Linked DNA regions of Homo sapiens: regions 1, 3 and 4 are each linked to region 2. The links are contacts of gene promoters, found by promoter capture Hi-C in blood cells and fetal thymus (Javierre and others, 2016). All regions are on one chromosome and are shown on one strand. Each heading gives the region's core, a stretch centred on a gene start or on the middle of the fragment in contact. The rest is flanking DNA. Distances are from core to core; before and after follow the strand shown.

The links. Contacts are between HindIII fragments. The CHiCAGO score rates a contact against its expected background, and 5 or more counts as called.
Region 1: a fragment that was not itself captured here is called in contact with the fragment with the promoter of RAB9B in region 2 in 1 of 17 cell types (fetal thymus); the score reaches 5.0 in fetal thymus.
Region 3: a fragment that was not itself captured here is called in contact with the fragment with the promoter of RAB9B in region 2 in 1 of 17 cell types (naive B cells); the score reaches 5.5 in naive B cells.
Region 4: a fragment that was not itself captured here is called in contact with the fragment with the promoter of RAB9B in region 2 in 13 of 17 cell types (fetal thymus, megakaryocytes, naive B cells and 10 more); the score reaches 11.1 in fetal thymus.

The regions. Positions count from the first base shown.
Region 1 is chrX:104,097,404-104,103,364 of GRCh38, reverse strand. It overlaps SLC25A53 (solute carrier family 25 member 53), which reads left to right. Exons shown (of 2, transcript NM_001012755.5): 2 at 1-4,151. Among named protein-coding and RNA genes, the nearest start is that of ZCCHC18, 12 kb to the left of the region's middle. The HindIII fragment of the contact is 654 bases long and covers 2,687-3,340 here.
Region 2 is chrX:103,827,991-103,834,070 of GRCh38, reverse strand. It overlaps RAB9B (RAB9B, member RAS oncogene family), which reads left to right and starts at 1,814. Exons shown (of 3, transcript NM_016370.4): 1 at 1,814-2,011. The HindIII fragment of the contact is 1,396 bases long and covers 1,046-2,441 here.
Region 3 is chrX:103,569,065-103,575,461 of GRCh38, reverse strand. No RefSeq gene overlaps it. Among named protein-coding and RNA genes, the nearest start is that of TCEAL4, 13 kb to the left of the region's middle. The HindIII fragment of the contact is 1,953 bases long and covers 2,352-4,304 here.
Region 4 is chrX:104,117,366-104,123,422 of GRCh38, reverse strand. The region is part of intron 1 of SLC25A53 (solute carrier family 25 member 53); the gene reads left to right. LOC286437 (a long non-coding RNA gene) reads left to right here. Exons shown (of 1, transcript NR_039980.1): 1 at 1-1,118. Among named protein-coding and RNA genes, the nearest start is that of ZCCHC18, 7.9 kb to the right of the region's middle. The HindIII fragment of the contact is 1,901 bases long and covers 3,037-4,937 here.

The DNA of each region.
Region 1 (5,961 bases), core at 1,764-4,263, 270 kb before region 2:
GAACTATTGTTCTCTCCCCAGACATTCCATGAACTTTCCCATGGCCATACTCTGGCCCACACTATTCTTTCCACCTGCAGTGCTCCTTCTTCACATGCCAGTCTACCAAAATCCTTCCAGTTCCTTGAAGCCCAGCTCAGAGGTCACCTTCTCTATGGAGTTCTTGATTTTCCCCAACTGAATGTGACATTAGTCTCTGTGATGCCCCTTTCTTTTTTTTTTTTTTGAGACGGAGTTTCGCTCTTGTTGCCCAGGCTGGAGTGCCAATGGTGTGATCTCAGCTCACTGCAACCTCCACCTCCCGGATTCAAGTGATTCTCCTGCCTCAGCCTCCCGAGTAGCTGGAATTACAGGCGCCCACCACCATGCCTGGCTAATTTTGTATTTTTAGTAGAGATGGGGTCTCTCCATGTTGGTCAGGCTGGTCTCGAACTCCCAACCTCATCAGGTGATCCACCCACCTCGGTCTCCCAAAGTGCTGGGATTACAGGCGTGAGCCACCGCGCCCAGCCTCTGTGATGCCCCTTTCTAACAGCACTTCATACAGGGTACTGATTCCATTATGTCACTAATCTCATGTGACCCTTTGTTCTTGTATTCTTCAATACCTCCTACTAGACTGTAAAACTCATTGAAAGCAGGGATTTTTGTATGCATTTTAAAATCTTCCATTGTGCCTAGGTGCTCAATAACGTTGGTCAAATTACTGAGTTGATTATCAAGCTGTGATATGGTATATCCTCAGGGTGCTGTCCCTTGTACATGACGATAAAGTTATTGACTCACTGTCAGCAAGACACGTGCCTTTGGGCTGTGTTTTTGCTTTCTTTTAATAATTGATTTAGTTTTGTGCTAATGATAATGATGCTGCTACTGATAATAATAATAACAATAATAAAAATTACTTTCAACTGGCACATTTGATGAGTTTATATTACTGATGGCATGTTTGCTATTAGCACCAGTTCAGGAACTGAAATTTCACAAACAGAATCACACTGTACAACTGTACCATTTGTTTCAACTCTGGAATTTTGAGGATTTCCAAGATGACATGTGTTATAGTTTCCCCCTACAGATATCTTAGTAATGCCCTCCTCTTGCATCTCCTTACTGAACCAAATTTGTCCTGTATTTGTCTTACTTGGTTGTAGATTTAGCAGTGAGAACTTCTCACTGAATGCCACAGAAATTAAAGACATGGTTGTTGGAGGTATGATGTCAGAGAGCATTTGCCACCAAGGTTGGCAGAAAATGGCTGGTCCAGGAGAGCTGAAGATGAGCTTCCACATCTGCAGATCGGGATGTGTTGGGACAGTACTCAACTTGTGGATTCAAGGAAGTATGAACACAGAGTCTGCATAAGGAAAGGAAAAAGATGCATTCATCTCCCAAGTACACTGGTGATTTCCACTTATGTCATTCTGTCCATCCATGTCCCTTTCTTCATTTTAACTTCTTATTTAAAAATAATTTCAAACATTTAAAAATGTTGCAAGCATAAATAAAGCTTAAAGAACACCCATGTCCCCTTTACCCTAATTCCCCTATTATTAATGTTTCTCCCCATTTGCTTTATTATTTAAGTGTGCACTCTGTCTATACACACACAGGATATTTTTTCCCTGAACTATCTGAGAGTTGCATACATCAGTTTTCAATATTCCTAGATTCAATGTTTGTAGATCCAAATTATTTTTTAAGAGACCGTGTTTTATCTCTGACAATGGGACAGTTATTACAGAATATAATAAAATGAAAACTCACACAATATATGTGATATTGTGAAATATATACTTGGTCTTTGATCCTGTTTCTTGGCATACAACTCCTAAAATCCTTAGAATTTCCAAAGTGATATCTTTTTGTATGCTAATAATTGACTGATGGCTGGCAGCCTCTGGTTGCTTCAGGATGGGAACTAGTCACCAGGAAGACCAAGGCACCATTAGAGGGTTGGGACTTAACAGCCTCATTCCCGACCTCCAGGGAGGGGAGAGGGATGGAAGGTTAAGTTGATCACCAGTGGCCAATGATTTAATCAATCATGCCTACGCAATGAAGCTTCCATAAAAACCCCAAAGCACTGGGTTTGGAGAGCTTCCAGATAGCTGAACATGTGGAGGTTCCTGGAGGGTGGTGACCCAGGGAGGGCACAGAAGCTCTGAGCCCCTTCCGCAGTACCTCACCCTATGCATCTCTTCATCTCTATCCTTTGATATATCCTTTATAATAAAGTGGTAAACGTTAAGTATTTCCCCAAGTTCTGTGACCCTTTCTGGCAAATTAAACCCAAAGAAGGGGTCATGTGAACTCAAACTTGAAGCCCATCTGTCAGAAGTTCTGGAGGCTTGGATTTGCGACTGGTGTCTGAAGGGCCTGGGAACAGTCTTGTGAAACCTAGTCCTCAGCTTGTGGGATATGACGCTATCTCCAGGTAGATTGTGTCAGAATGGAATTGGAGTACACCCAGCTGGTGTTCGCTGCAGAACTGATTGCTCACTTAGTGTGTGGGAAAACTCCACACATCTGGACATGGAAATATTCTGTGCTGATTGCCGTGGTGTAAGAGCAATGCAAAAAGTTTGGGTATTTTCCCCTCGGAGTATATTTTAAAGCTAAATTGCTAATAATTGCTTAAATTTACTATATTTGCCTTTATAAAAACTTTATGTATGTTGAAGCTTGAAGCTATGCAATTATAATATAAACATGGATTTACAACTAAAGCATGTTATAATTTAAATAATTGAGTTTTTCAAATCGGTTCATATGAAATCCTAGGCAATATTGTAAAATTATACAGACCTGTCAACTTTTTCCACTTAAAAGTTGTGAGCAAAATTTAAGGGCATAGTCGTTTTCAAGTAATTTTAAATGTCAATGTTAATATTTAGTTTAGTGATGTTAATGGAGCTATGTTTTCTGATATTAAAAATGAGTTTTAGGAGTTGAGACCAATAAAATAAGGAGGTAATAAATATCTATATCTGTTTAAACACATAAAATATACAATTTAACACTAAAATTACTTGGTATAAAAAGTCAAAAAAAAGAATAAAAAGCCATCATACAACACAATATATGCGTGATATATATTTTTCTCTAAATATAAACTACATCAGCTTTTATAAAGCTCAAGTTGAAATAATAACGTTTTATGACAAATCATTATATGGTATATTCTGACTTAATTTTGCATTTACAATTTATTTTTAAACACTAAATAGCATTATAATTTTACTGGGATAACTATATATAGTGTAGTATATTAAAGTTAATAAAATGACGTTGCATATGAGAGAAAAAGCATAATAAATCAGAAACAATATAAAAAGCTTTCAGAAAAGATAAAAATATTGTATTTCTCTAGTCTGTTCACTCTCCAGTGTCTCTGGTTCTTTCATATCATCTTCCTTTCCTCAAATCTTTTAATACTCCCTCCCTCATCATTTCCAACTAGTGACCCTACTTTCTATTTCATTAAGAAAACAGATACATTCAGAAGAGAACTGCCAGTTTAAAGAACATTTACAAAGCCATCACCCATGTAATAACCAGCCAGAGCAAGAAATAGAGCCCTTTAATAACCTACTCTTCTCCCCCCACCACTGATGACACCGCTCCCTCCATCTTAGGTGTAGCCCCCATGCTGACTTTTGTAATAATAATTTCTTTGCTTTTGTTTATAAGTTTTCTTCCTTATAAGCATCTCTAAACAACAGTTTTGTTTTACAGATGTTCAAACATTAAATGCTTTTTAGACTTGGAATTGTGACTATCTTGTTTCACTCCACATTGCTTGTGAGACTCATTGATATTGCAGATAGCTGTAGTTGATCCATTTTTATTGTTGTACAGTTTACCATTGTATAAATATACCATGATTTATTCATGATAACTTTGAGGAACATTCTGGTTGTTTGCAGGTTTTATTTTTACAGTTCATTAGTTTTATTGATGTATAATAATTGTATATGTTTATGGGGTATATGTGATATTTTGATACATGTGTACAATGTGTAATGATTAAATCAAGGTAATTGGGATATCCATCAGCTCAAACATTTATCATTTCTTTGCATTGGGAACATTCCAAATCTTCTCTTCTAGCTATTTTGAAATACACAATAAATTGAATACTGTGGTCACTCTGTTGTGGTATTGAACACTAGATCTTATTCCTTCTCTCTAACTGTATTTTTGCACCCATTAACCAATCTCTCTTCATTCACTCCTCTGCAGTACCCTTCCCAGCCTCTGGTAACCACAGTTCTACTCTCCACCTCCTTGAGATCAACTTTTTTAGCTCCCACATATGAGTGAGGACATGTGATATTTGTCTTTCTGAGCCTGGCTTATTTCACTTCACATTTCACTTCACAAAAAATCCTCCAAGCTCATCTATGTTGCCACAAATGACAGGATTGCATTATTTTTTTTATAGCTGAATACTATTAAATCGTGTACATATATCACATTTTCTTTATCCATTTATTTATTGATGGACACTTAGGTTGATTCCATAACTTGGATCTTGTAAATAGTGCCGCAATAAACATAGGAGTGCAGATATCTTTTCAATATACTGTTAAAAAAATTTTTTTGGATATATACCCAGCAGCAAGATTGCTGAATCATAATGGTAGTGCTATTTTTAGTTTTTTGAGGGACACCCATACCGTTTTCCATAATGGCTGTACCATCTTACATTCCCAATAACAGTGTATGAGAGTTCCCCTTTCTCCACATCCTTGCCAGATTCTGTTTTGTCTTTCTGATAATGGCCATTTTAACTGGGGTGAGATGAAACCTAATTTTTGACTGTTACAAAACGGTGCTACTATCAATGTTCTTGGTAGTGTGTATAAACACAGGTATCTCTAGGGCACTTATGTAAGAATGGAATTACTGGTTTATGGAATACGAGCACCTTCAATTTAATTGGATGATGCCTAACTTCCTCATGGCATGTACCAATTCACGCTCTTACTAGCCAGGTTTAACAATTCCCATTGCTCCACCTGCTGGCCAACACTTGGTATTATCAGACTTCTTAATTTTTGCCTATCTAGTTGGTGTAAATGGCATCTCTTAATTTGATTTTCCTGATGACTAATAATGTTGAGCATCTTTTCACTTGCCTATTGAACATTAGGATTTCCTCTTTTGTGAAGCATTTATTCTAGACATTTGTCATGTTTTCCTGTTGAGTTGTATGACTTTTTCAAATTAATTTGTAGAAGTTATTTGTTTTAATTTTAGTTCTTCCTCTTTTATATGTGTTCCATACATCTCTCCCCACCTTGCCACTTATTTTTCCATTTTAGTGATTTCTTTTGATAAGCATAAGTTCTAATTATAAGATAGATATCGAAGTTATCAATCCTTTTTTACGGTAAGTGCTTTTGTGTCTTTTCAAAGGAATCTTTCTATACTCCAATATCATGAAGATATTCCTTTATACTATAATAACATTTACAATTTTATGGTTTTGACTTTCATATTTGGGTTTTTAATATACTTGGAATTAATTTTCGTGTAGCGTATGAGAATAGAGGTCTAATTTTTTTCCTTATGAATATCCAATACCCTAATATCATTTGTTGAAAAGTCTTTCCTTCTCCCATTCAGTTACAATGCCAACTCTGTCAAATATCAAGTTTTCATATATTATTGGGACTATTTCTGACCTGTCTGTTCTATTCCATCAGTTTATTTATCTAACCTTGTGCCAGTACAGCATTGCCTTATTACCTGTAACAGTAATAATAATAAATGTCTTGATATCTGATAGGGAAAGTCTTCCCACTTCATTCTTATTCCTCAAGAGTTTCTTAACTATTCTTATTAATATGTACAGAAATAGATGCTGAGATTTTCTTTTCACAAAATTACTGTTGAGATTTTAATTTCAGCAAAACTTAACTGTTGAGGGTTTTTTTGTTTGTTTGTTTGTTT
Region 2 (6,080 bases), core at 565-3,064:
TGTGAGATCCTGACTACAGAACGAGGTAGCTTAGAAACTAAAAGATCCTTAAAACTTGCCAGTTGGTTTGGGGGTTTCTCAGAGATTTTTAAACTGTTGGAAAATGGCATCTATGAGAAAATGAAAAAGTAGTCTAGATTGTTACACCTAAAGACGAGTTACTCTAATATGAAGGACTGTTATTTAAAGCATTTCACAAAACTATTTATTGAGGTGCAAAAAGAAAACATTGGAACATCAATATATTTATTTTTCTCATTCTTTTAAAATTTCTGTGGAGTATTTTAATGTTTACTCATTAAAATGTATGTTTAAAGTAATGTGTAATGTATACATGTACAGTAGTACATGTATATAATCTATAAATCCTTATACATATGTTGGGGCCCATGCTCAATAGTTTTTTAATAGACTAAAATGTATGCGGAAAATTTGATTTAGAGGATTGTGTGAATCTCGTCTTCATCAGAAGAGTGTTTTAGAGTGTATGTGTGGGGAACGGGGTTGGTTTAAATAGGAGCACATGAGATTCAGTTACATCAATTTATTTTATTTAAATATAACAACTATTAGTGATACAGCATTCATTCATATTCAGCAAATATTTTCTGAGCATGTCCTATGCAGCAAGCATTGCCCTAGGCTCTGTGCATACGGTGGTGAACACAAACGTTGTCCTTGACCTCATAGTCCTTCCCCACTATAGTTTAGTAGGGAAGACAGCTGTCAACCAAATAATCATACACTTAAATGTACCACCAAAAATGGGTAAGTGTTATGAAGGAAAAATACAGCAAGTTACAGGAGGCTACAAGAGTATAAACTGGGGCACCATCTCTATTCTGAGATTATCGAGAAAGGTTATCCTGAGAAGTGACATTTAAGCTGGGGCCTGCGGAGATTGATTGCACGATTGCCTTGTCAAGAGACAGAGGAAGAGTGGCCTAGATGGAAGTAGCGGGTATGTGTGAGGGCCTGGACGGGGTCATGAGATGAGTGAGGGCCTGTGCCACAAGGTCACAGGGTTTCGGGCAATGGGGAAGCTTCAGAGATGGAGCTGCCTGACAGAGAGGTGGAGTGCAGGCTAAATGACCTCAGGAGCTTTGTCCTTCTTCAATTCCAGGGGGAAAATCACAAACTAGTTGGAAGTACCAGAGGGCTACAGAAAACAACAAAAAGAGACTAGCTGGTCGGCTAGGCACAATTAAAACATCAAATTCTGCCCCAGCAGCAATTCCGGGAAATTCAAGTAATGCCCCCTGTGTGGCCCTCTAGAACTGTATCTGGTAAGAGTAAAGGGCAGTGTGTCCTCTATGCCTGCGCTACAGATGTGGACATTTTTTTTAATTGCCTGAAAATTTCATAAGCTGTAGCCAGTTAGAGGGCCTAGCAATGTGTTGTGATCATGTGTTTTCCTGAGTTATTTGAAACAAGAGGGTGTATGTACTACCCTCTTGGCAAAATTAAAGGATTTTGAGCTAGGATAAATGAGGTAGATCAGAGGATAATTGCAGGAAGTGGGGCAGTGGCTAGCCCTGCTTGAGGGCTTAGGCCCAGGCTGCAGAGGAGCTAAGTGGAAGAGCAATATTTGACGGTCTATTGCCGCTGTGCCTACTAATCGGCTAGGGGAGGAGAAGGAGGACAAGGGAGACCAGGGTTGGACGATGAGCATGAAAGAAGAGTGGGCGAGCCAGGGAGCGCTTGCCACATGGAGGGCGGGAGGCGGCTACACCGGGTCCCCACCGCCGAGAAAGGGGCACGAGGAGGCGGCGCGGGCCCCGCCCCCTCCCCTGGCGGGCGCGGGCGCGGGCTCGAGACGCTGCGCGGCGGCAGCGGCGGGCGCGAGCGGCAGCTGTCAGGCCACCGAGGTCCAAGCCGCACTTGCTGCCCCATTGAGGACGAGGAGGCAGCAGGAGCAGTGACGGTGACTCTAAGGAGCCGGATTCCCGGCACGCAGAGCTGACCTGCCTGGCACCCGCGGCCCTCTCCTGTTTCCTTCCCATTGTGTTGGGTAAGGTGCCTGTGCGTGGGCAGGAACAGGGGCTAGGGGCTGGAGGACCCGGAAGGCCGGGAGGTGGGGGGCCTGTGAGAAGAGGGAGAAAGGAAAGTCTAGTTGATCCCCAGGACCACTCGTAGCTTGAGAAAAGGGACTGAGCCGCTCCCGAGGTCGGAGTCGGGGGCAGGTGACAGTGCAGGGGGGCGTTGCTGAGTAATCCCGAGCTGCTGCCAGAGCCGAGCAGAGAGGCGCAGGGCTCCGTGGGGAGCGGGTGTGGCTCAGTGCGCATGCGCCACAGCCGACTAGCTCTAAGAGCTGGGGGTGAGGTGAGAGGACCTGGGTCGGAGGTAGTTGGGACTATGTGTGACATCTCACTTTCTAGGTCCGTAATGCTAACAGTGCCCCTGTCGTAGAGATGCCAGCATTCTTGTCTCCCAAGGAAGCTTTTTTTCCTTGTGTTCAGCTCGCTTGATGTCATCCAAACCTTATCTACCTATCTGTCCCTGGGCAGTCTACTGAGGAAGAAGTGTCCTGGGGACGATGCCAGATTGCTATCTAGTGTGCCTTTGGGCTTATAGCCCTAGAGCTGTCGTTGTGAGCAGTGAAAGGTTAGATGTGGGACTCCACATTGGACCCTTTGAGTTGCATATAGGATATAAATGTGGGCATGAATGTAGGAATAGCGTTTCAGTGGCATGACAGCTGTGGCATTTGGAGTCGGCATGGATGTAGCTGATAACTTGTTAGCTCTGCAAAATGAATCCAGTGCGTCAGAGGGTTTCCGCGCTACGAAGCACCCACCACCAGCACCAACGCCAAGTATTGGGTTGTATTGGAAACACACTCAAACATTCAATCATTTCTCATCCGTGTTGAATTTTACATAAATATAGCCGCGCCCAATTCTTCAGTGCAATATTTCCAATTATTGTGCCAGCATTCAACAGTGAGTTGAGTAGCCCTTACCAGTGTGTCGCCACAAGATGGGCTTTCCCCACAGGTCCAACCATGGCTCCTCCCCTGTACAGACTTCCAACAGTGCCACTCTCATCCAGTGCCTAGCCCTCCCCAGTTGCTCTTCCCCTATCGATCCCTGCAGTACACATCCCTTTCAAGACTTGCCTCCGAGCAATCTGCACTACTGATTTTGAGCATCATTCCACTCCATGGCAACTGAACTGATGCGAATTTGCTTTTCTGCCTCTCTTCTCTCCATCATCATACTAAAATGTACTATTTTCAAAGGTTCAACTTCTTTTTCTTCATTGTACTGCCTCCTCCCCCACCTCCACTCCCACCTCTAAGCATTCCCAACTAAATACAATAATTTGAATAAGGCTTTGTGGGTACTGCAGATTCAGAAGGTTTCAAGTGTGTTAAAGAACAAAGAGCTGGGGAGTATTGGTTATGGAAATTCCTAATTCACCTTACTCTCCAAGACTGAGACCCTGATGGGAAAAAAAAAAGTTAGTAAACTATCCTTAGAGCATGCTCATTAATGAGTTTGTGGGGGTAGGAAAGGGGAATTGCGTCTCTCGAATATTTTACTCAGTTAGAGTCAGATCTTTCTCTGAATGGGATCAAAATCAGAATAAGCGTTTTGGTCCAAATGCTCGCCCGACAGAGGACCCATAAGGGATGCATACGTCATTTGACTTTCCTATTTACGTATTTAGTGTTATCAAAGAATTCATTTGCCTGCTTAATGTTACCTTGTTTAAAGGTTTGGATTAAATCCGGCATATTCTGGGGGAGGAAAAAATGATTTCATTTGCTTTTACACTGTGCTAGTTCTTTTTAATTTAAGTATGTACTAAAGGACATGACATTCATTTTCAAACAATGATAAATGATTGTGGAGAGGCCAGCACCCACCGACAACATCAACTGGATATCATTATTCTGCTCTTGTTTTGGGTAGGAATGGGGAAATGTATATACTTATTTTTAAAATGTGAGAGTAGGGGGAGGAAAACTGGAGCATTTCCCTTGACTTTCAACAGGTGGAATTCCCATTACTCCCCATCCAGAAAATGATCGAGTCAAGTTCATAACTTCTGCTCTTTAGTTACCTTATAAATAATAGTATTTTGGCATCTTACAGAACTATGGATCTATTGTACCTTGGCATCAATTCAGAGGCATTAATTCTGGGCACCTACCTAATCATTTAATTGGTAAACAAATATTTATTATCTCCATGGAGGATCCTGGTGCTGCACACTGAAGGGGCTTCAAAGATGTATACAGTGAGCTTACTATCTAGGAATTTAAAATTGATCATGTAAGAAAGACAGGAAAAGTTTGTTAACAAAATAAGTCAGTATAATGACATTATTTCAACTGTAAACAATGAGATCCTGAGCTTGCATGTTAATTTGTAAACTCCCTGAGGGCAAGACCTTGCCTTAAACATTTATTAATTCCCAACAGTATCTACATCCAATGGATGTTTGAGTGATGAAGCTTTGCAAAGTAGATTGAGTGGGGAGACACCAGAAGCAGGGAGAGAAGAACTTTCACAATAGATTAGATGTGAGAAATTGTGGGCCAAAATGAGGATGGTAGCACAGGACTAGAAAATGATACTTCAAGGGAAAATCAGCAGGATTGAATGAAGGCAAGGAGACAAATCTAAACTGTATTCATTTTTACTTCTAGAAAATAAATGGGAGTTGGAGACAGCAGAGGAGAGTGGAGGGTTTCCTTAGTAAGGACACAACACACAATAGGCACTGTAGTGTTTTCTCAAATATCAGTAGCAAGATTGGACCAGAAGACCCTGAAGGTCCCTTCAATGCTGAGATTCTGTGCCATATGCAGATGTTCAAGCTTGTTGAGGAACAAGGCATTCTCAAATATGGAAGAAAGAGAAAAGGAAGAATTCTTATACTTTCACTAGCAGGCCCTTTCTGAGAAGGGTTAATACTGAGCCACAAGGCCCCCACCAGTGCATGAAAGGAGGTGGAGGAGCCAGAGGAATAAAAATCTCAAACCAAATTTTTCAAAAAATGCTTACAAATCTTTGCAAACTTCATAAGCTTTTCATTCTCCCCCAAAATCCTGTTAAGTAGGGCAGGTATTATCTGCTCTATTTTTATGTAAGAAGATACTGAAACAGAAAGATTAAATGACCTGCCCAAGTTCATAAAATAAATGAATGGTGTAACAGTGATGAAGACCCTGGTGTCCTGATTACTGCCAGCTAGCTCAGTGCTCTTGACACTGAACCACATTGCTTTTCCTCTTTTTCCCTTGGCATAGAGCCTATAGGCCCAGAAGTTATGTGTGCACATAACCAAATAGGGAATGCACAAGCAACTGCAGCATTATCTCAGACAGTTATTAATACATCATCATTATTCCTGGAGCTGAGCATTTGGTTTCCATATTCACTCAGTCCTTGACCTGTCTATTGAGTTTATCTGCAACTGGGAGAATAGGGTCAGTGAGTCTTTTAATGATGTGAACGCCTGTTTGCTAGGAACTCAAGGAAGCTTGTGTGGCCTGGACGCTTAATACTAGCCATCAGAATCATGCCCAAGTTTGTACTTCTGTTGCTTTTCAAAATGAGAGTTCAAGAGTTTTGCTCTGTAAAATTATCCTACAGACCAGTATAAAAAAATAAAAAAGTGTGCTAACACTTGTTTCATCTCCATTTAAAGAAATGTTTGTTACTTGAGCTAATTCCAAAGACAGCAATTTGGGAGCAGGAAAAAGAGGACAAAAATTAGGAATTGTAGGAAACTTGAGAATTCTGTAGAGTGTATATAAACCAAGAAGGAGGATAAAGCCTATCCATTTAGGAGATATTATTTAAATTCATAATTACTGATTTAGATATCTAATGAATCCTTATTATAAGTTTTATCTATATTTAGAAAATAACATGTGATTATTAAGCAGCAGATTTTTTTTTAAAGCTTCGTTCTTCCTCAGTAAGAAATAACACTACACAGATCTAGGCACTGTTTTTCTTCTTAAACCAGTACTCTTGATGCTGCTTAAATAAGATTCTTGCCATAATTAATTATAATATTAGATGAATGTATATTTAAATTTAATAACACCAGCTAAATATTAA
Region 3 (6,397 bases), core at 2,079-4,578, 260 kb after region 2:
TCATGTATGCTCTGACTCAGTAGTTGCACTCCTGGTATATATGCAACAGAAATGAGTTTTTATGTCCACCAAAAGATGTGAACAAGATTGATCATTAAGTACAAAACATAAAGCAATGCAAATGTTCATCAACAGAAGAATAGTGTTATAGTCCTATAATGCATTACAACACAGAAATGAAAATGAACAAATTACAGCTTCAAACAACATGGGATAAAAACACAAATATAGCACTGCTACTTCCATTGTAATCCCTCTGTCACCCTCCTGTCTACAAAACCACATACCTATGGAGTTGAAAATGGGTTCAGGTTTGAGGCCACAAGAAGAAATTCAAAGACAGTGAAAAGGAGAAGCAGCCCCTGGAATTCAGCATGATTGCTGATATCCCCAGTTGTTGGAGTTTGTTAAGAGAAAAATGTGCTTACACATTTTAATTTGAATTAATTAACCAAGTGAATATTGAGGGAGATCAAGCAAATCAACATAGCATTTAGATTTTATTTTAACGTATTTCTTGGCAAGCAGGTTAATGCAGAGAGGCACAGTTTCTATGAGTCTCTGATAGGCTCAAACACTCAGTCTAATGCCATGTCTGATAGAGCAGACGCTGGAGTGAAATTCAAGAGATCGTCCTGGGTTCTGGTGTCAGACCTAACCCAAAACCTACCCGGCCATGGGTAAGGTCCTTCAGTTCTGTGAGAAGATTCCATCTGGGAAAGGACTCTCAGTTACTAGAAGGGACAGAATTCACTATTCACAATTATTTTAACAAGTGTAATGACTATGCATATTATTTATTCTTAAAACAAGATTCCTTATAGTGCATGACAAAATATCTGATCAAGCATCAGGTCCACCCAAAGCCATATGGTCCCTGCCTAGTTTCAACCTCCAAAGGCTGATGTTGTTCACACTTACCTCTGTGTGGAAAGATCTTGGAAGCAGAGGTAGTTAAATTATGGATGGGTTTTGGTATTACTTAGTAATAGTAGAAGCCATGAGGGGCAGGGCTGGCCTATCACATCTCTCAGATGGACCACGGGTCAGCATGCAAGGACTGGACTGATGACCCACTAAAGAGAAGTCTGGGTGCTCTCATGTTCCCCTAATGTCCTCCTCAGGGACTGGGCAAAACCTGCCGATGACCCTAGATTTGTTTTTAAAGTCCCTCAAGATAAGGGGAAAGAGTGGCTACTTTTTCAAACTTTCTCCTCCTCACACCATCCTTATTCTCCTCTTATCCAGTAGTAACAGGCCAGGATCAAAGAGGAGATGGGCAGTAAGGGGCCAGGAATAAGGACCAAACCCATTGTACTGGTGACTGCACTGGGAGCTGGGATTTCATCCTTCCAAGTTGAGGTGGTGGGTTTTATTTTCAGGCATATGTGCTTGGAAGTGAAAAAAATAAGATAACATTCATTTAGCTTGTGTGTGTGTGTGTGTGTGTGTGTGTGTGTGTGTGTCACATTATTTTTCTTAATCAGTTGCCATGTGCTATGGTTTGAATGTTTGTGTCTACTCCAAAATTCATGTTGAAACTTAATATCCAATGTAATGGTATTCAGAGGTGGGGGCCCTAGCAGGTGATTAGGCTATGAGGGCTCTGCCCTCATGAACAGGATAAACGACTTTATAAAAGGGCTGGAGGGAACTGCGTAGGCCCCTTTTGTCCCTACACTTTCCTCCAAATGAGGATGCAGCAACAAGATGCTTTCTTGGAAGCAGAACCTGATCCTTCAACCAGATATCAAACTTGCTGGTGCCTCCTGAATTGTGAGAAATAACTTTCTGTTCCTTATAAATTACCCAGTCTCAGGTATTTAGCAGCACAAATGGACTAACATGATGTATGAGGCAGGAATTATGTCCACAACTACTAGCCCTGAATTTATATCCTTAAATCTCCATGATTGGGAGCAAAAGATTAGACAATAAAGCTACCAAACCTAAGCAAAGAGCCACACCAGTTTCCTCTTCAACATCCAAGGCTGAACATCCCAGGAAGGCTCTTATTGGTTCAGCAGGGTCACCTCCCCACACTCTGGGCCAATAGCTCAGGGGCTGCGGGTCCTACATTGGCTGACCCAGCAGAGAGTGGGGTATGAGCTGCACTCATTGAATGCTCACATCATCTGAGTCAGGCATAATTGCAGCTCATTAAGATTTATGATTTTTAAAAAGACTTTTGACTGGGAAAGAACAGAACTGAATAAGCCTCAATGAAATAGAATACAAATTTCAGAGTCCAGAGAGCTTGGTAAGGGGATTGGACTGTTTCTTGAAATTTATGATATATATTTCTGTGCTTTTTGTTTTCATCATGTATTAACATGAATTCAAAAAAAGCTTGTGATATTTTTATTCCAGTAACACTGTTTCCCCAGGAGTCCTGCTTATAGTACGTTATTTACAGCAGTTAAAGCTGTTTCCCTTAGTCTTTTTTTTTTTAACACAGAATTAGAGCACTCTTGCCCAGTCTCCTTGTTCGTCATGCACCCACCAGGTTAATAATCAGATGTACTCATTGCCCCATCTAGCCTTTCAGCATCAAGCCTTGTTTTTTTTCTTTACTTACCAGATTCATCTATCTCAATCACCCCTGCACTCTCAGCCAAATTATAACGCATTTTTAATGTTCTTTCACTAATGTTTCTATTTACTTTCTGAATTTACAAGAGGAAAATGGCAAAAGCGCTATAACTGTCCTCATGGATTTGATATATTAAAAATGCCTTTTTCCATAATACAATGTGTATGAGACCAATATGCTAGAATAATTTTGGTAAAACATTTGTATGGCACACTGACAGACATTGGCATTTTGAAGCAGCATGATATAAATTAAGTGACTTAATGAAATGTTTTTTTACAAATATGTCCACAGCTCTTTCTCTGAAAGAGAAAGCCTTTTTTTCAAGCCACACATGGCTCTGAAAAAAGCCTTGGTTTCCCAAAATGTTGTCCCAAATGTGTAAGTCAATCATGTGGTACCTCTTTGGGCAGTTTACTTGCAGATTATTTTGTTGTAGTTTTCCAGGTCTCCTCTGCAGTAAAATCCTTTTTCAAGTCCTTTTATAAGATTTTTAAAAATACACCAGATCTTGATAAATAATAGTCTTGATGAGAGGGCTCAATTTTTCTGAATCCTGACTCTAATGATGGTAATGCTAGTATTTTACCATGAAACAAACATTGTATAACTCATTATATTAGCAAAGGAAGTTAAATCATGTACTGAGATTAACTGAAGATTACCCTTTTTTCCTTTAACATCATAAGGTGAATCATACTTGTATTTTACTGGAACATCTTTGTATTTTTGGATGAATCCTGCTTTGTCCCTTTTTGTTCATCATTAACTATGATGCCAGATGTAATTGCTAATATTTTATGTAGGATTTTATATTCTCGCTTATAAATGTCACTGGTCAGAACTCTTTTTGGCATATTTTCCTTACATCAAAATGATATTTTTTCCCTTCGTAATCTGACACCGTTCCATTAAGAGAAAAGAACACCTGTTCCTTAGTGGTTTGACATGAAATACTTTTGGAAGCCTGGCCTTTTGGGATGGTAGCTCACTGGTGACCTCGATTTCTTCTATTCTTCTTAGTCCTTAAATCTCTTTTGTGGGGAGGAGAGTGGGTTTAGTTTCTGTCATTTATATTTTCCACAAATTTATACATTCATTCAATATTTTCAGTTGTATTATCATAGATATTTAAAAGAGATATCCTTTCCATTGAATAATATTTCCTACATTATTTCCCTTTTCTCCCTAAGGAGTTTAGTTAGATGTTTAGTTTAGTAACTTTTTTCAGCCAAGAGCCCTGATATTTATCCACAAATTATACAGTTTAAAGTATGTTTCTAGGACCTAAGTATTGTCAAGAAAACTATTTTTAAATTGTTTATTGCTCATGAATATTTTACATTTTAATAAATATTCCTGTTTTTTGTGTGTGTTGTTTGGAGACCATAGTTTTGTCATCTTTCCTTGAGTCATTGAGGTTTTTGATAAGAATGGGAGGCAGTGGTTTGTTAGCCAGGTCTCTTGTTTTCCACGAGCTCCTCTCCCATGTGGGAGGATTCCTGCTCAAGCCACAGTGGCTTAGCCCAGGGTGACATTAGATTCTGGGTTACTGGACAAATGGCCCGAACGTGGCCAGCATCATTCCTCTGGCATTACGGACCGGGTTATGGAGATCAGAATCACTCAACAAGTTGAAGCTGAAATTGCTCCAATTTAGCTGCTGTAGATGGTATCTTCAAAGTGCTCTTGGTGGAGCCTACAGGAAGCTTTCAGTCAGCCTGACCGTTTCATGCCTTCTCATTGGACTGTGCCACATAGAACTATCCAATCACATTTGCCATTGTGTGGTTTATTGGCAGGGTTTCCTCGAATTACATTTCATCTAATTAGAAATTGTGTGTGTACCCAGTACTTCATTTGAATACAGGGCCTATACATGGGCACCACCCTGTCACCAACCACTATCTTTTTCATTTCAAGGTATTGAAAACAATGTCCGTCATGGCTGAGCATTCTTCTAAATCTGACTTTAATAAAAAGGGCTTTAAGAAAGTCATTTCCAAAACACAGAAGGGGAAGATGTGAAAAGAGATGCTATGGAGACAGTTGAGTAACTGTCTATATTTACATCTATGTTTACAGGGTTCTGAAGCAATTTCATCCTGATATCAGCACTACATTAAATTTCTTGGGCATCATGAATGATTTTCTTATCGACATCTTTGAGCACATCACCACCAAGGCTGGCTGCCAGGTTGCTACACTGAGTGCTCCACTATCACCTCCAGAGAGATCCAGACCACCCGAGCCTGATGCTGTCTGGGGATATCCACAAACACGCTGTATTGAAAACCAAAGGTAAGAACCATGTTCCAGTAACATTGAATCTACTTTAGTTCTTGAAGTGTGATGTCCTGCTAATTTTAAAACATTTTTTTTACAACAAACTAGATATTATCAATTTTAGTTTAATGTATCTATGGTCCAATTTGTTTAAAAAATAAAATAGTGGGTTATACTTAATAATGTTGCATTATACCACTTTACTAACGAATCAGTTCTTTTAGTTATTTTTGTAGGTAAGCCATTCACGGGACCTGTAAGATGTTATCTATATTTTTCATTCTCATTCCCTCACAAATATATGCTGAAATTTTCCAGAGATACCTTATATATTATATTCAACAGATTAATTGCAGGAACATATATAAGAATTCAACAGACTTCTGTTAGAATAAATATTAAAGAGATTTTCAAATAAAAAGTCCATCTCCTTATGACTTGTTTTAGAAAACATATTTTTCATATAAATTTACAATGTAGGTTTACAGAATGTAATGGATATTTTATTGTAAGTTTAACATGAATTAATATAAATATATTAAAAATTTCTGTTTTACTATTTAATATAATAAATATTAACAGATATGACTGCATGAAATTTTAAAGCTTCATTATTTTTAAACTGAAAATAACCTCTTTCTCAGGCTTTGCCGCAAGAGAGGAAGGCCATTCTTTTCCACACCCTCACTGTACAAAATTCATTTGCATATTTATAGACTGGAATTATTTCCATTTCTTTAAGTAACTAAAAGTGTACAGAGCTATAATATTGCTCCCATAGAATCAGAATCAAACAACCCAGAAGGGTGTACTATAAATAACACACAATTTTCCTTTGAAGAACATTTTTCCTATAGTTTTTCTATTTTTGATAAACATTAATTTCAAAGTATGGTTATTCTTGACCACAAAATGAGGCTGAACTCATTAGATTTGGCTTGTTTATTTACACAGGTACAGCAGAAATCCTAATTTACTATATAGTCCTTCTTTAGTATGCATTGCTAAGAGTTTTCATAATGATGACATTGGACTTTTTTACTGTATTTATATATATATATATATAAAAAACAAAATTTACCATATAGATCATTTTTGGTGTACAGTTTAGTGACATGAAATATATTCACATTGTTGTGCAACCATTATCACCATCTGTCTCCAGACTTTTTCATCTTCCCAAACTGAAGCTGTACCCATTAAACAACAACCTCCCATTCCCCCCAAAACCCAGTCCCTGGTAACCACCATTCTACTTTCTGTCTCTATGAATTTGACTACTCTAGGTACCCCATATAAATGGAATCATACAATATTTGTCTTTTGTGTCTGGCTTATATCACTTAGCATAATGTCTTCAAGGTTCATCCATGTTATAGCATGTATCAGAATTTTATTCCTTTCTAAGGTTGAATAATATTCCATTGTATGTCTATATCACATTTTATTTATTTATTCATCCCTTGGTGGACACTTGGGTTGTTTCCATCTTTTGGCTATTGTGAATAATGCTGTTAT
Region 4 (6,057 bases), core at 2,738-5,237, 290 kb before region 2:
CAAAGTTTCTGAGTTATTCTGTGGGGAATTTGAGCTACTCTCTTCCTTTAGGTCCAGGCCATCTCAGCTAGGTCCAGAGAGCCTCACTCACCTCCCCAACTAAGCAAGCATCCCTGGAGGTATGTTCTTCATGCAAGGGCAGTTCCTGAGAGAATTTATTTGGTTAGCTCATAAAGGGATTATATTGTTTTCCCCTGCACATGAGAGAGAGTAGCTGAAGTCTACTGACTTTAATGAAATTCTCTGTGAAGAGTCTGGGAGGGACGGTTTAGGTAATCCATCTACAAGGGTGCTCAGAGAGTTTGGAGCGAAGCGATTGGTGTCGTTATGATGGCATTCTATGGCACAGTAGTTACAGTGCACCAGGCACTCTTTTAAAGACTTCTCAAGTGTTCATTCATTTAATTCTTACCACAACCCTGTGAGGGACTTCCTGTTATTGTCTCCGTTTTACTGGTGAGGAAGCTGAAGCAGAGAAGTTAACTACTTTGCCCAAGTTCCTTTCCTCCTTTGAGGATAAGGAGCCAAAGGTTCAGGAATGCCCAAATCACATCCCTCTTCTTGTCCAACCACCCAACCTCTCCACAGGCAACCTGATCAGCCACCTTTATACAAAGTACAGTATTCAGATTGGAATAAAAATATATCTCCTTGACTCCCTGCTCTGAGAGGTATTTCTTCTCAGACTCCCAAAAGCTGGATTGAGGAACATGGCTTAGTTGGTACAGTATAGCAAAATGTCCTGCTTGTTGAAACTGAATTTGTGATTATCTTCTTTTTCCTCAAGAAGTCATTGAGGGCTGTTGTATCCCTATAAAAGGAGAATTTAGAGTAGCCAAATAAAAGGGGGCTGAAGTAGTCTCATTACGGAAAAAGAGAGTGTGAGCAGCCTTTTAGTAATTGATTGCCTCAAGATGTGGTATTCAGCCAGGGTGAAGGGAAAGTAGTTGGGGCTGTGGATCTGGAGGTTTACAGAAGCCTTTACCCATCCTGAGACTCAGTTCTGCTGTTGGTCTTCAGAGAAGTGTCTGCACCTGCTGAGAAGAAATCACACCACTGCACTCTAGCCTGGGCAACAGAGCGAGACTCTGTCTCAAAAAAAAAACAAAAAAAAAAAACAAAAAAAAGAAATCAGACATCTAAATATGTACAAAAAACTAATAAACCTCTGGAAAAATGGACTCAGAATAAAGACATATACAAATAAAAAATATTTGGAATGCGTACTAAATGCCACTGAATTGTACACTTTAAAATGGTCAAAATGGTGAATTTTTTGTAACTTTTACCACAATGAAAATTTTGGAACAAAAAGGGGGGATAGAACTATGGGTAGAATACAGAAGAATCAGGCCAGGGATGATGGTTCACACCTGTAATCCCAGCACTTTGGGAGACTAAGGCGGGAGGATCACTTGAGGCCAGGAATTTGAGACCAGCCTGGGCAACAGAGTGCGATTGCCATCTCTACCAAATATCTATGTTCATATATATATATATATATATATATATATATATATATATATATATATATATATATATATATATCATACCATTTGATGTGATGTCTAGTAATTGCTTTAAAATACTTCATCAAAATGTGGGGGATGAGACAAATTATGCAACATATTGATAATTCTTGAAGCTGAATGATGAGTACATGGGGATTCATCATTCATTTTCTATAATTTCATGTGGGTTTGGAAAGTTCCATTGAAAATGTTAAAAACAACCCGCTCCTCCTGCCAAATCATTTGAAAACTTAATTTGGGGAGTTTCTTAGAGCTGAGTTGACCTTTAAATATTATTAAGTATTAAAGTCTCTAGTAGCTCAGAGTTAAAGGGTATTCCCAGCAAGTTTAAGAGATGAGGAAGGGCCCTGAATGTGAGCCAGAGCTACTAAAGTAGGATGTGCCACAGGCCACCTCTCTTTCTGCTCTGGTTCCTGTGAAACATAGTGCTTGTTCCAGTAACGTCACCTCTAGGAATGTATCCTCAGGAAATAATCGTTCACATGTGCAAACCTGTATGTGAATAAGGATGCTTTTCTCAGTGGGTTTATAACAGTGAAACAAGGAAACAAGGTAATGAATGGCTCTAAAGAGGCTGGTTTAATAAATCATGGATACAAGTAAATAATTGGATTTAATGCAGTTATGAAAAATAATCTAAACACCTTGGACCTCAGTTGCCTGGTTTTTAAATGAAGAAAGCCAAAGAAGAATTGTATTCCTCAACTAGTTTTAGGAGGCCAGCAAACCTTTGATACCAAAATCTCACAAAGACATTATACAGAAAGGAAAATTACAGGTGAATCTCTCTTACAGACATAGATCTAAAAATCCTAAACAAAATATTAGCAAATTGAATCCAGCAATATATAACAATTGTAATAAATCAGGACCAAATCTTGTTTATTTCAGGAATGCCTGGTTGGTTTATTATTAGAAACCCAAATAATGTAATTTAGCATTTTAACTAATAAATGAGAAAAAAGCATATATAATAGATACAGAAAAAGCATTTCATAAAATTCAGCATCCATTGATTATTTTAAAAACTTATGGTAAATTAGGAATGGAAGGAAACATTTTTAAACTGATAAGTGGTATTTACTAAAAACCTGCAGCAAGCATCCACTTAATGTTGAATTGCTCAAAGTGGTCCCTTGAGTTCAGGAATAGGACAAGAATGTCTCTTCTCACTAGTTGTACTCTAGGTCCCAGTCGATGCAGTAAGGTAAGAAAAAGAAATGTATATGGATTGGGAAAGAAGAAATAAAACTACCATCATTCACAGATGACATGCTTGTGTATGCAGAAAATTCTAAGGAAGCTACAGATTAAAATTATTAAGAGATTAGCAAAGTCAGTGTACAATATCAACATCAAAAGACCAGTTATATTTCTATATACCATCAACAAGCCCTTAGAAAATGAAATTTAAACCAATATTTAATTTATAGTAGTATACACAATTACCTTGAACTAAATGTAATAATAGACGTACAAAACCTCAAGCAAAAGTTATGAAGCTTTGTTGACAATGTCAAGTGTTTGTGAGGATGTGGAGCAACAGGAACTCTCAAACATTGATGGTGGAAGTGGGAATTGGTACAACTTTGATATACAGTTTGGTGGTATCTAGTGAAGTTGAAAATATACACAATCTATGAGCCAGCAATTCCTCTCCTACATATATACCTTGTGTGTGCACATATGTACCAGGAGACATTAAAAACATGTTCTTAGCAACATTTTTCATAATTGTCCCCAACTGGAAACAGTCCAAATGTCCACCGACAGTAAAAGGATAATTTCTTGTAAAGTCGTAGAATGGAAAGCTGTAACACAATACTGAGAATGATGAACCGATGCCGCATGCAACCAGGTTGAATCTCAGAAGCATAATTGTAAGGGCAATGAGCTGGATATAGAAGGATATATGCATTATAGTTCTATTTACATAAAGCTCCAGAAACAGTAGTGTTTGGGCATCTATATTTGAGTGGTAAAGCTATAAAGGAAAGTAAGAAAGCAACAGCTAAAACTGTCATGAGAGTGTTTTGTTTTGTTTTGGAGAGAGGAAAGAGGTTGTGATTGGGCAAGGACTTATGGGAATTTCTGGAGTTCTGATCTGTTCTGTTTCTTGATCTTTATGGTGATTTGCTTTATAATAATTTGTTAAGCTGTAAATTTATATTTTATGCACTTTCCTCTGCTCCCCCCGCCCCCCGCTTAAAGAGTGTTTTAGAATGTGGAAATTTTAAGATAAGATCTATCTCAGGGCTTGTTGTAAGAATGAAATGAAGTATAAAGCCATGTAGAGCTTGTAGAATATGCCTGGCACTTTGTAAGACCTTAATAAATGTTAACTATCTAAACACAATACAGATTTGCTGTTATTATTGCTTCTCTTATTTGTTGCCAGCCCTGCCCCCTTTCCATGATATTTGTTGCCAATGTTTCTCAGCTTACTGTTGGTATTTTATTTCTGTTAATGCTGTCTTCTGAGTTATCAGTCTTTTCTTTTATACTTTCTTTCATTACTCTTAACCATAGAAAGTTCTCTCCAACCCAGAGGTTTAACATGTATTGTGTTGCAGCTTTAAAAGGGGTTGCTTTTGAACATTTGATTCTTTTTATTCATTTTATAACAAAATATACGATTAAAGAAGAATTAATACATAATTGCATAAAATCTACATTTACTGCTCAAATGTATCTGGGATTCATATTTAGTGTCATGGGAGAAAGGAAACTGACCTTTTTTCCAATCAGGTAATGAAGTTCCCCCCAGCACCATGAATTGAACAATTTATCTCTCCTCCACTCATTGTTGCAGCTGTCTCCTCTTGCATACATCAAATTCAAAACCATTTGCACCAAAAGCATAGACTGGAAACTTGATACCTGAACTGAATGTGATAATGCAACTCTGAAGGGGGAGGGGATGGTTGCCAGGCAGCAGGAAGGATAGCTGCAACAAGAGGATGTGAAAGAAAGGTGGCCTGTGTCACACAAGTATTCCTTAAAGGCTGCATCCTTGTGTATGGCGCACAAGCCACTTGCTGCTATGATATTTGGCTAATTATGTCTGTTGACCTTGCTTTCCTCATGTATCATCTTTATATAATAGTAACACCTACCTCATGGGGTGCTGTGCACATGATGGCTAACTCAAGTAAGGAACACAGACTTTGGGATCAGTCAGTCCAGTGTCTTATCCTTGACTGTACCACTAAATAATTACATGACCCTAAGTACGTTTCCTAACTTCCCAGCCTGTTTCATCATCTGAAATATGTGTCAATTAATAGTAATTAAATTAATAGCAAGTTAGAAATAGAAAGTCATGCTTATCTTAAGGGAGTTGCTATGAAAAGCTAATAATGCATTTTAAAGGCTTGGCACTGGGTGCCTGGCATGTAATAAGCTTGGAATAAATCGCACTTGCAGTGATTTTAATTTTTATTGCTATTGTGGAAGGATCAGGAAGGGAAAGAATATTCGGCAAAAGACACTGAGAAGTAGGCATCAAAAAGATCTGGGAGAGGGAAACCATGAGATGGATGTCATGGAAACAAGGGAAAATAGTATCAAGAAGGAGGGAGATATTGCAAAAGGAGGTCATTCAAAGGCTGGTTTCTCCTGACAAGACAAAAGAGCAATTTTCATCTCTTGGCGACTAATGAGAATGAAGGGAGAAAGGAAAGGAAAAACAATAATTATAAATGAAGGGTATCAAACACAAAATTTTTTAAAAGCCTTCTTTCACTTAACCCTGTAATCACTCCAAGTCTTCTTTGTCTTCCAATTAGGGAAAATACATACTTCTTGAATAAAGGAAAGCCAGTGTGACACAAAATGAAATAAAAAGTCTCACTTTTGCATCATTTTGGTGAAGTAAAAATTTAGACAGTTTCAGGTTTACACAACAGAGGACAGGATGGGGGGGAAGGAAAGGGGATGAATTACACAGCAGGGTTTCAAAGTAATGATCTTGAACCTCCAAGCTAACTCCAGTGAAAAGGAGGATGGGGGTAGGTGTAGCATTTATTCCTCTTTTCACTCTACCTGGTTTCAGAAAGAAATTATGACAGCATATCTAGGTAAATCATTCAATAGCATTTATAGAGTGAATTTGAGAAAAGGTGAGCAGCAAGGGGAACTATATTCTAATCTTGGAGAGATGAGTGGGCAAATCCCCTCCAAGGATAGACTTTGGGAGAGGTAGGGAGGAATAGGGGGCTGTAAGAGCCAGGTAGTGTTGGGGGACCCTGTGGCTTTGGGGGCTTGATGAAGCTGCCTCCTGCGTGGGTGGTGGGGTCCTCTTTGCCTGTGGTGAGATGGAGGTGGCTGCCAGGAGCCAGAGGTGCCCCAGAGGGATGCAAAAAGTGGGTCTCTTGGACCTTTACTCCTGCTCAGTTCTCAGCTAAAAGGTCAGAGGCAGAGGGGCCCTCCCAGTCTACTGGCCATGAGCATTAAGGAGGCTGAGGCTTAAGGCCATCATGGAATGCGGAGGAGGGGGAGGTGGTGATGGGCAGAGCACATGAAG